Linked DNA regions of Homo sapiens: region 1 is linked to region 2. The links are contacts of gene promoters, found by promoter capture Hi-C in blood cells and fetal thymus (Javierre and others, 2016). All regions are on one chromosome and are shown on one strand. Each heading gives the region's core, a stretch centred on a gene start or on the middle of the fragment in contact. The rest is flanking DNA. Distances are from core to core; before and after follow the strand shown. Region 1 overlaps HDAC4 (histone deacetylase 4). Region 2 holds the start of OR6B3 (olfactory receptor family 6 subfamily B member 3).

Evidence for each region. Contacts are between HindIII fragments. The CHiCAGO score rates a contact against its expected background, and 5 or more counts as called.
Region 1: a contact is called between a fragment that was not itself captured here and the fragment with the promoter of OR6B3 in region 2, in 2 of 17 cell types (neutrophils and M0 macrophages). The highest score is 6.0, in neutrophils.

What each region holds. Positions count from the first base shown.
Region 1 is chr2:239,102,658-239,107,819 of GRCh38, reverse strand. HDAC4 (histone deacetylase 4) reads left to right here. Exons shown (of 27, transcript NM_001378414.1): 16 at 4,924-5,044. Among named protein-coding and RNA genes, the nearest start is that of MIR4441, 19 kb to the right of the region's middle. The HindIII fragment of the contact is 2,037 bases long and covers 238-2,274 here.
Region 2 is chr2:240,051,618-240,056,926 of GRCh38, reverse strand. It overlaps OR6B3 (olfactory receptor family 6 subfamily B member 3), which reads left to right and starts at 3,406. Exons shown (of 3, transcript NM_173351.2): 1 at 3,406-3,467. RefSeq lists enhancers at 811-1,451, 1,452-2,094. The HindIII fragment of the contact is 11,088 bases long and covers 947-5,309 here.

The DNA of each region.
Region 1 (5,162 bases), core at 7-2,506, 950 kb after region 2:
GCCTCTGTCTGTGACCTTTCCTGATGTTTCGCTCCCACCTCCCACCTAGCAGGCTCTTCTCAAGGTCCAGGGCTGTTGCTTTCTGCCTCCGGGTCACTTCCCCAAGGAAACCAGTTCCCACCATGCTCCCCCAGGGCTGCCAGGAAGGAGCCACGGGGAGATCCGATTATATCTCAGATCAGGCCTGTTGGCTTTTTGTTAAAATAATTTTCTCTTTTTTTAAGATTTTGAAAAGCTTCTTCGAGAACACAGGGAGACCTCAGGCCCTTGGGGCCCTCCTCAGAGTTAAGGTGCTGGCGAGGCAGTGGGTCGTGAAGGGAATGGAGCTGCAGGCAGGGCCCTGGCCTGGTTTGAATTCAGCTCCCTTATGTGGCTGAGTCACACGAGGAGGCTTCGGGGATGCTGCAGCTCTGGCTGTGCCTCAGTTTCCCTGGCCGCCAGGCGATGGCAGCGGCCTCACTTGTTCTCATACAAGGAGGGCCCGGCCCCGCCTCCTGATAGGAACCAGAGCCCTGCCCCGAATCTGGCTGCAGTGGACTCCCAGGCCCAAGGAGGCAAGAAGGATCAGCCGATTAACACCTGAGGGCAGGACGGGGGCCGCACTTTGGTGAGGCTGTCCCAGCTGGTGCTCTTCACCCTGGAGGCAGCTGTCACAGGGGATCTTGAGCTCTTGACAGGGAGGAGGGTGTGGCCAGGCCCTGCTGATAGCGAGGGCAGGAAGAGAAGAGACTCCCGTCTGGGAGCTGGTGACCTTGGACAAATTTCCATTTCTTTGTCTGTAGAGAGGGGCTGGCAACACTGTGCAGGGTCGCACAAGGCCCCACCCATGCCAGGGCCCACCAGTAGAGACCTGCTATGTCCACTCCCCACACCAGGAATCCCACCATCCTACAGATAGCGCACAGGGTGGACAGGAACATCCACACCCACCCCTCCAACAGTCCTGGACACCCGACAGCCCAGGGCCCAAGTGGCTGTGGCAGAGATGAGTGAGCACGTGGAGCTGGCGTGGCACGGAGGGCCTCTGGTCTCCTGGCTTAGTTTCTGCAGGGTCCCGCCCTGCAGGTTCGCCTGCCCTCCTTTAGAAGCTGGGATATTTGTGAACTTTTAATCTGTGCCTCATCTTACCCCCCGTTTCCTTTACCAGTTTTATTGGTGATACATAATTTTCAGGGGGGAATTCTCTAAAAGTCAGGCCCAGGACCCTCTCCTGCAGTGCCCTCTGGGAGGAGGGAGGAGGAAGGCGGGGAGGAGCCACTGTAGAGGCTCTTGGCACCTGCTTCAGGGATCTGGTCAGGACGGCTGTGCCACTGGAGGGCAGCATTGCCCAGCAGACACTGGCTGCAGGAAACTCCTTCCCCACGTCCCTTCCCTCCACAGGACCAGACAGCTGTCCTGCTGCCCCTTCTGGGGACTGCCCAAGGCCTCCTGAGGCTTCCAGAGCTCCATAACCTGCTTCCTTGTCCCTCCCCTACATGTGCCCCCACCCCCAGGAGGTTCCGCTGAGGCCAGGGGATTGGGAGAGGGTCTCTCAGCCAGAAAAGCAAAGCAAATGCAAGCAAGGGAGGGAGGAGTGAGAAAGCAAAGACCCTGGAAGAAACAGCCCGCTCCTCCGCCCGCCCTCAGCTCCTCCGCCCGCCCTCGGCTCCTCTGCCTGTCCTCAGCACCATGGGTGAAGGTGCCAGCCACGACTGGGCCAGGGGCTGGCAGAGGGTCCCCAGGTGTTGGGGCTGTGGGACAAGACCTGAGCCTGGCAGGATCTCAGGGAGAGGAGAGCTGGAGAAAGACAGGTGGCTGGGAGACAGCCACAGAGGCGGTGGAGGCCATACTCCCTGGACAGCAGTGCCTTGCTCCCACACGTGGGGCAGCTCTCCAGTGCGGGTGCCCCTCCAGGTTCAGAGCGAGCAGTGTGCTAACTCAGCCCAGGGGGACGTGACGTCACCCACCAGACTTCCAGTGCCAGCCTGCCAGGGGTCACTGGCCTCCTGAGATGGCCGAGCAGAGGGGCCATGGGTACGGGGCATGGTTAGAGTGGGTACCCGATAGGAGAAGATGGGGTGGATGGGGCTGTGACTTCCCCAGTCCGCGGACCACTTGGAGGCCACAGCAAGACCGAAGCCCAGGCCCGAGGGCAGGGCCTCAGAGTCAGCACCCCTTCTCTGGGTAGACGACTGCCTGGAGGCCTGGGGGGTGAGGCCCTCCCCTCACACTGCTGAGTTGGCTTCGCGTGGTGAGGAAGGATGAGAGTGGGCTGGGAGATACTTTCTGCAAGCTTGGGACCCTGTCGATACTGGCAGGCCGGCCCAGCAAGACGTGGCTCCCAGTGCAGCTGTCTCGCTCCCTGCCTCACTCCAGAGCAGGCCTTGGGAAGCTGCCTCACACGTTCTGAGCAGTCGGGGGTCCTCTGAGTATAGCCATGTGTGTGTGCGGGCCCCGCCCTCCTGCAGAGGCTTCCCGGGAGCCAGAACAGCTCCTGGCCAATTTGCTTGCCCAGCTTGGTTTGTCCTGCCTCCAGGCACGGTGTCCAGGAAGGAGAGGAGAAGTGGGTGGGCTGGAAGTCAGATGCCACAGAGACCAGGGCCACCACTGGGATTTGCACCCTGCCCCAAGCCTGTGTTTGCTGTAAGGAGCAAAGACTCCTTCTGTCTTATCCTAGGAATTAAAGGGAGACAGAAATAACGAGGTCAGCCTCCCAAGAAAGCAGGAAGGGGCCACCATCACCACCGCTCCCAGAGTGGCTCTGGAAAAGCCTCTCAGGTGCTCAGTCTGAGCCGTCACAATATTGCACGCTACAGCCTGAGCCATCGCGGTGTCCCGCACGCACAGCCCGAGCCCTTGCGGTGTCGCGCACCTGCAGCCCCAGCCGTCGCGGTGTCGCAGAGCTTTTGGGGCTTTGATCCTGTGTCTTTTCTGTGTCCATTTCATGTGTTTGTAAGGAGAGGGTTTTTCTACTTTTCTTCTTTGCCTTATTCTAACATCAACTTTAATTTGTGAATTTCATTTGTGGTCTAACGTCAGATCTCTCTTTCTGCAATTCAGTCTCTTATCCAGTGGGTCGCTTTTGAGTGGGGAGGACACACATGGCTACCCTGCCGTTCTTTCACCCAAAGTCCACACTACATGACCTGCCTCTTGGCACCGCAGGGCACAGCCTGTGGTCCCCTACGGGGACCTTCCCAAGCGTGGGCTGCCTAGGCCCGTCTGTCCAGAGGGAACTTGGCCCTGGCCACAGCTGCCTGTGCCTGTACACACATGTGGGCTTCCTGAAGTCATTAGAAATGAGAAGCCCTGGCCAGGTGCGGTGGCTCACTCCTGTAATACCAGCACTTTGGGAGGCCGTGGCGGGTGGATCACATGAGGTCAGGAGTTCAAGACCAGCCTGGAACAACATGGCAAAACTCCATGTCTGATAAAAATACAAAAATTAGCCAGGTGTGATGGTGGGCACCTATAATCCCAGCTACTCAGGAGGCTGAGGCAGGAGAATCACTTGAACCCGGGAGATGGAGGTTACAGTGAGCCAAGATTGCGCCATTGCACTCCAGCCTGGGCAACGAGCGAAACTCCGTTTCAAAAAAAATAAAATAAAATAAATTAGAAGCCCCCGCAGCCGCCCAGGGCCCCAACTGCACCCTGACCCCTACCCAGAGAGTACGTCCCTCCTGCCTGGCTTTCCAGGGACATGTGACTTATGTCCCCAAAGTAGAAGCAGCACTAGGTTATGTGGATGGGACCATAGAGTCGTTTTTTACCACCGGAAGCCGTGTCACATCTTTTCTTTGTTAAACAAGAGACCTTCATAGAGGAAGCCCGGTTTTGTGGAATTGTTGTTCATGAGAAGAGAACCCGCAGAGCATCCGTCCCTGCCCAGCGCACCTGCCCTCTGGAGGTCTCTCCCCTGTGGGCGGGGACTGAGTTCTTGGCTCCGCCCCTTCTTCCTCCACCCTGCATGGACAGGACCCCCAGGTGCAATGCGTCCTGCAGGAAGGCTGTGTGCTACGGCTCCTGGTGGTCTGAGAGGAGCCCCAGGTGCTGGGCTGGCATAGAGAGCCCTCGAGCTTCGCCCACCACAGGTCTCACATACAGGGTGGACACCGAGGCCTGCAGGAGCTCAGCGGATGCTGGGGCAGGGCTGCAGTCGGGAGGGAGAGAGCAGATCCTGCTCAGGCCTGGGGGAAGCAGGTAACAGCCACAACCGGGGCCACCTGAGTGGCGTCTGACTCATCCTGTGGTGGCCTAACCCTCTGAGAGCCATTTCCATGTGAAATGTTAACTCGAATCTCATGTCCAAAGCCATCGTCCCCTTTAAAAGGCTAAATAAATGTAGCTCAACTAAAGAACACTAATTTTCCTGTGAATTTCTGGAGAAAATCTGAATTAGCCCAGGGATCTCAATCTGAAGAATTTCCAAACCTCAGAGAGACGCAGCCGGATGCCAGCTAGCCATCCAGGACAGATGCCAGACCCTGGCAGCTGTGGCCCCGGGCGGTCCAAGGAAGGCTGCTTCATCCTGGGGCTCAGAGACTCCGGGAGCGCGGCTGGGGTTTCCCTTGAACGTGAGGGAGCTCAGCAGCTCACCTCTATTTTAAGACCAGACCCTGGCAGCTGGAAAGCAAAGTAATAATTTGATGCCAAGTCATTCGTGCGACAGTGAAGGGTAATGCATTGAAGGCTGGAATTATCTTTTAAAGTGTTTTTTCAAAGCTATAATTAAGTGTAAGCCCTCTAAAATATTTCTTAAATATTTTAAAATATCACGTTGGGTGATGTTGCTTCTTCTTTTGCAGTAACCAAATAACATGCTTGTTTTTGTATCAAATTAAGTTTCCTTTTGGGCAATGGTTTCAGTTGGAGTTTCTGTCTGTGGAGCTGAAGCAGCAGCTTCTGCAGAACGTGTGAGTGTCCTCTCGCCTGTCCCCACAGTGCATCCGCGGACGCAAGGCCACCCTGGAGGAGCTACAGACGGTGCACTCGGAAGCCCACACCCTCCTGTATGGCACGAACCCCCTCAACCGGCAGAAACTGGACAGTAAGAAACTTCTAGGTATTTCAGGACCTTCCTTTCCTCCCATATTGGGTTTGAAGTCCCCTGAGGTTGTGTTTCCAGCTCTCAACCCCTTGTGTCTGGGGCACCTGTGGGTGTCGCCTGCCAGGTTATAAGG
Region 2 (5,309 bases), core at 2,157-4,656:
CCTCCCTCCTGCTGCAGCCTGCTGAAAGCATGCTGGCAGGCACATTTCCGAAAGGCCATGTTCACTGGGTCTCATGCCAGTGACCGGCTGCTGGGCCTGAGCAGGCAGGGCTGTTCTGGGGGGCAGGCGCGGGAGGTGGCGGGCTGGAGCTGCTGCCAGAACACCCACCTGTGCCTGTGCCCTCGAGATGCGGAGGGACCAGAACTCAGGTGGAGGACTGCCCCTTGCCTGCTCCACCTCCTCCTCTCTGCTCTTCCTGCTCACTCTCTGTCTTCCTCTCTCCTCTTTTGCCTCCCTCATTCGAATTTCCTCTTATCCCATCTTTGATGAGGCTGAAAATGACAGGAGGTTTTCCTCGCAATTGGGAGGTTTGAGGGCTGCGAGAAAGAAAAACAGACTCAAAAAGCCCTGAGCTTCGCTTCCCGCAAACATGATGCTCCAGCCAAGTGGATCAAGGGTGCCAGTGAGGCGTCCGTTCGGAAGCAGGACGGTTCCCCTGACCCTGATCCAGCCAGGGGCCTGACCAGTCCCCCTGTCTGACTCCCACAGGGAGTGACGGCCCTGAACCATCACATGAGGTCCCAAACTCAAACCTGTATCCAGTCCCAGACCCACCCCAAATTCCATCAACAACTAGCAGCTAGGGGGTGCCCCTCATCCCCTCACATTGGGCCTGGGCCAGACTTCGCCGTCTTGGTGATTTTGGGGACAGGCGTGACAAGGGATGGGCAGGAAGACGTAGGTTTCTAAGACCCTCCACCCCCTAGACCTTGCTGCCGTGTCCCCTCCAGCCGCACGCTCATCTCCACTGCAGCTCAGAAGCATGCGTTCCAGGCATCCTCCCCGGGGACAGATCTTCCCCAGAAACACATTCTGGAGGACTCTTGTTTGGTGTTTATACTTTCCATTGTGATATTAACTCCACAGAACTGGGTTCAGAAAAGCTTTCAAGTAAAATACCTACTTACACTTCAAGACACCAGAAGTAAAAGGATGAAATGTTTTGGGAAATGGTAAACTGTGAAAGTACACCAAATTGTATCACTGTTTTCCTTCCTCCTGAGAGGCATCTGCTCCTGCTAGCTCTGTGCCACTTCCTTTCCAATTCTGCCTGCCCCATTAACATTGAGCTTCTGCCCCCAAACCCTCCCTGATATGTTTTCCCTCTGCCGTTACCAATGGCCTCCTACCTGCCAATCATGCTCCCTCCTCTTGGAGGAGCCACCGTGTCCTGGCTTGGGCCACACGTCCCCGAGTGTCTCCCCACGTCTCCCACCACCTTCACCAGCCCCTCTTCCTCCTCTTCCTGCTTCTAGAGGGGGAGGCTTCTCAACTTTTATTCTTGCCCTCTTAGTCTTCATATTTTCCTTGGTCAATCTCATTCACATCCCTGCAGGCAGCACAGATTGACTTCCTGGTGTCACTTTTGATTCTCAGGGACCCAGCCAGAAAGCCTCGTTGAGGCTGCCTTCAGCACACACCGGACAGGTTTGCCCTTCCCACGCCTCCTGCCCTGGCCTGCGCTCCTGCAGCCTTTTCCCTGATGACCTCAGGGTCTCTGCACGGGCTCCCCCTCCTCACCTGACTCCTCCAGCCCGATCTCAATGCAGTGGTCAGAGTCAGCCATTTACAGTGTGGGTGGTGCCATGCCACTGCCGTCAGAGTGAAAGCCAACGTCCTCACCATGGTCCTCACCACCTCAGGCTCTGAGTGGGCTCCTTCTGCTCTTGGTTGTCACTGTCTCCTGCCACTCCCTATCACTCTGCTGCAGCCAGCCTTGCCCCAACCCCCTGACCCCCTTCTTGCACTCCCCAGCCTGCAGCCTTTGCACCTCATTTTCTCTCCACCTACGTGTGTCCGACAGACAGCCACAGGCTAACTCACATCTTCTTTGAGACTCTGCCCTGGTGTCGCCTCCTCTCTGGCACATCCCCACCACCACCCCCCAGCCCACCCTGACCTTCTGTTCCCATCCACTCACCACCTTCCACACTCTAAATAATTTCCTTACATATCATGGGTATTATTTATTTTTCTGACTTATTTCCTGCCTTCACTAGAATTTACATTTCATGAAGGCAAGAGTTTGGGACTGTTTTTTTCTCCTGATTTATCTCAATTGCCTGAAACAATGACTGGCACATATTAGACACTTAATAAACCTTGGACCGACCCCCTACACATCTTGACATCTGACCTCAGTCTCTGGTGGGCGTTCTGGATGTCAGGGGTACTCCTGGAGCTCTCTACAGGGTGTCCCATAGGCGCTGCAAGCCCAGCATGCCCCAAACTAAGCCCCTCATCTTCCTCTCTCTCCTCAAGTGCACTTTCCCCCTCTGCAGGGAAACCCTAATGAAAGCAGAAGCCTGGAGGCACCCTGAAATTCCTCATCTCTGGGAGCAGCTAACAGTAGCATCGGGAGCTCAAGTGAGCCCATCAGGAAGAAGCTACGTCTGAGGCAAGTCCTGAAGGGCAACTGGCAGGGCAGCAGTGGGGACTGAATCAGCACGGTGCTCTCATGGCACTGAAGAGGTGCCTCCTGCAGCAGCCAGGGATTCCAGGAGGGGCAGGAGCAAGAGAGGCAGTGAGGCCATAGAGAGGCTGACTCAGGAGCAAGGGGCTTATGCTAAGAACATGCAATGGACGTGGCCAGGAGAGAGGTCTGCGTGTCATTCCCTGAATGTCATTCCCTGCTACTGGGATGATGGATCAGACAGAGTCAGGAGAGACTGGAGGAAGACCAGTGAGAGAGCGGTGACAATAATCCAGCCTGGGAGGGACGGAACCTGAACAAGGACAGGGTGGATGGCAGCCCATGAACGTGGAGACAGCAGACCTGATTCTGGAGGCATTTAAGATGTGGGGCAGAAGGACTCAGGCGTGCTCGGGTGTGGAGGGAGGGGAGGGGAAGGGTCCACACGGGAGCTCAGTGGGGCATCCGGGGGGCGTGGGCAGCCGCACCACTCCCTGAGAGGAAGAGCACAGGGGCAGGGGCTCCATGGCCAGGGGAGGTCTTGAGTCATTGGCTGGACACAGGAGTTAGTTCTGCAGAGGGATCGGGGCAGCCTGGGAGTCGTCAGCTGGAAGTGACTACAGGAACCGCAGGGGCGGGTACATTGTTCTGAGTGTGGACGGTGGGGACGGAAGGCTGGGGCCACAGCGCCAGACACTGAAGGAAAGGGGAGCAGAACAAGAGCCAAAATGTGGGCCCAGAAATGAGCAGAACGTCGCTGGCTTCTGGGGACAGCTAGTCCCCGAGGTGCACAGCGACAGAAGCCGCATGGCAGTGGGAGGAGGGAGTATAACTGCCTGTGAGTCTTTATGTATGGGAGGAAGAGACCTCATCAGAGGCATTCGTGGGAATGTGCACCCCAAGAAGACAGGGGACATGGGGACCCAGAGGTATCTGAGTAGGAGCAGAGACACATCATTGCCTGCCTCGCGCCCTGCCCTGCAGCTGCAATCAGGTAAGCAGTGGGCAGACGGGGCAGGTGCTCCCAGAGAGAGGGGCCATGCTGCGAGCAGGGTGCATCTTGCACTGTCCACAGGGTGCATTGTGAGTGCAGGACCTTGAACGGTGTTGCCTCAGATCTTCCAGCTTTTCAAAAGAAACCAGATATTGGTGCCTCTGTGTGAAATGTTCTGATTTTCAAAAACAAAGGTCAAAGTGAAAGTTTTAGAGAATTGTCCTTCTGAAACGTGCAGGATAAATGACATCCCAATATACCCAATATACAGGCGTGTGAGGAACTGGCTTGAGAGGTGCTCAGAAGCCACTGGAATTCTCGGTCTGCCCCACCATAAAATCTGTCTCCCTATTTATGTTTAAGAAGCGGTGGCTCATGCCTGTAATTCCAGCACTTTGGCAGGCTGAGGTGGGCGGATCACCGGAAGTCAAGAGTTCGAGACCAGCCTGGCCAACATGGCGAAATCCCGTCTCTACTAAAACAGACACAAAAATGAGCTGGGCACCTGTAATCCCAGCTACACGGGAGGCTGAGGTGGGAGAATCGCTTGAACCCAGCAGGCGGAGGTTGCGGTGAGCCGAGATCATGCCACTGCACTCCAGCCTGGGCAACAGAGTGAGACTCTGTCTCAAAAAAAAAGAAAAGTCACAAATAATCTTTAATTGGATTATTCTTTAAAAATCAGTGCTGAAAGGAAATCAACGAGCAGGCTATGCGTGTCGGGCCCACGGGCTTCCAGCTTGGGCTCTACCCTGTCGTGTCCACAGAACAGCAGCTTAGGAGAGGCTGGAGGACCGGCAGGCATCGCAGGCTCTGTCCATCTGAAATGCACTTTCTGATGTAACATATGAAGAACAGACCCGGTTGGTTTTTAGCATGGGTTTAATGAACTATCCTGACATCATGTTTAACACAATCCAGGCTTTCCTTGCTAATAGTATCACAGAAATCCTCAGCTCTGATGTAGGGCTTTCTATACTTTCTCTATGCTGTTCCATTGACTTTATGGTGGTGCTCGTTATCTTTAGTATTTATTTTATTAAATTATTATTTTATTTTTATTGTAGTTTTTCTATCCAAAATAGAAACGCCTCTTCATTAACCTGCTTCTCTTTTCTTCTTCCTGAATTATTTTAGCTATTCTCATCTGTTTATATTTCCAGATGATTTCAAGAATTATTTCATCCTGTTTCAAGAAAAATATAATTTGGTGAGATTTCAAATAGAATTGAGTTAAATTTCAAAATTGATTTGGAGATACTGACATTTTTACAATATACTTTTTTGAATCTAAGAATATTCTAATTAGTCATTGTTGGTATACAGGAAGACTACATTTTTGATATTCATTTTGAAATCCCTTAATTATAATAGTGTAGCAGATTTTTCAGCTTAAAAGTCCTGCCATCTGGAAATAATGATAATTTTGTCTACTTCTTTATTCTGTTCTGTGGTAGCTAGTACAATGGCACATTGTTACGTAGCAGTAGTTACAACAAAGAGCCCTGTCTTAATCCTGACCTTGGTGGAGCAGGAATGATCCTGGTATTTAGCTGTGGGGATGCTGTAGGCTGTTGGTTGAGGCTGGTATTATTTATCATGTTAGGAAAAATCACTTCTTTGGGGATGACAGATGCATGAAAGTTTTGGGAGAGTTTTTAATCAAAGCCTTTTAGCATTAGCTAGACTTCAAATGTGATCCTTTCAGCAGATTTGCTAACCTCGAAGTCTCTTTGCACCGCTGAAATAATCACGCTAGTGCCACGTGAGCTCTTTTAAAGTGCTGCTGGGTCCTAATTGCTGACATTTTATTTGAGTTTTTTAAGTATAGTAAAAAAGAAA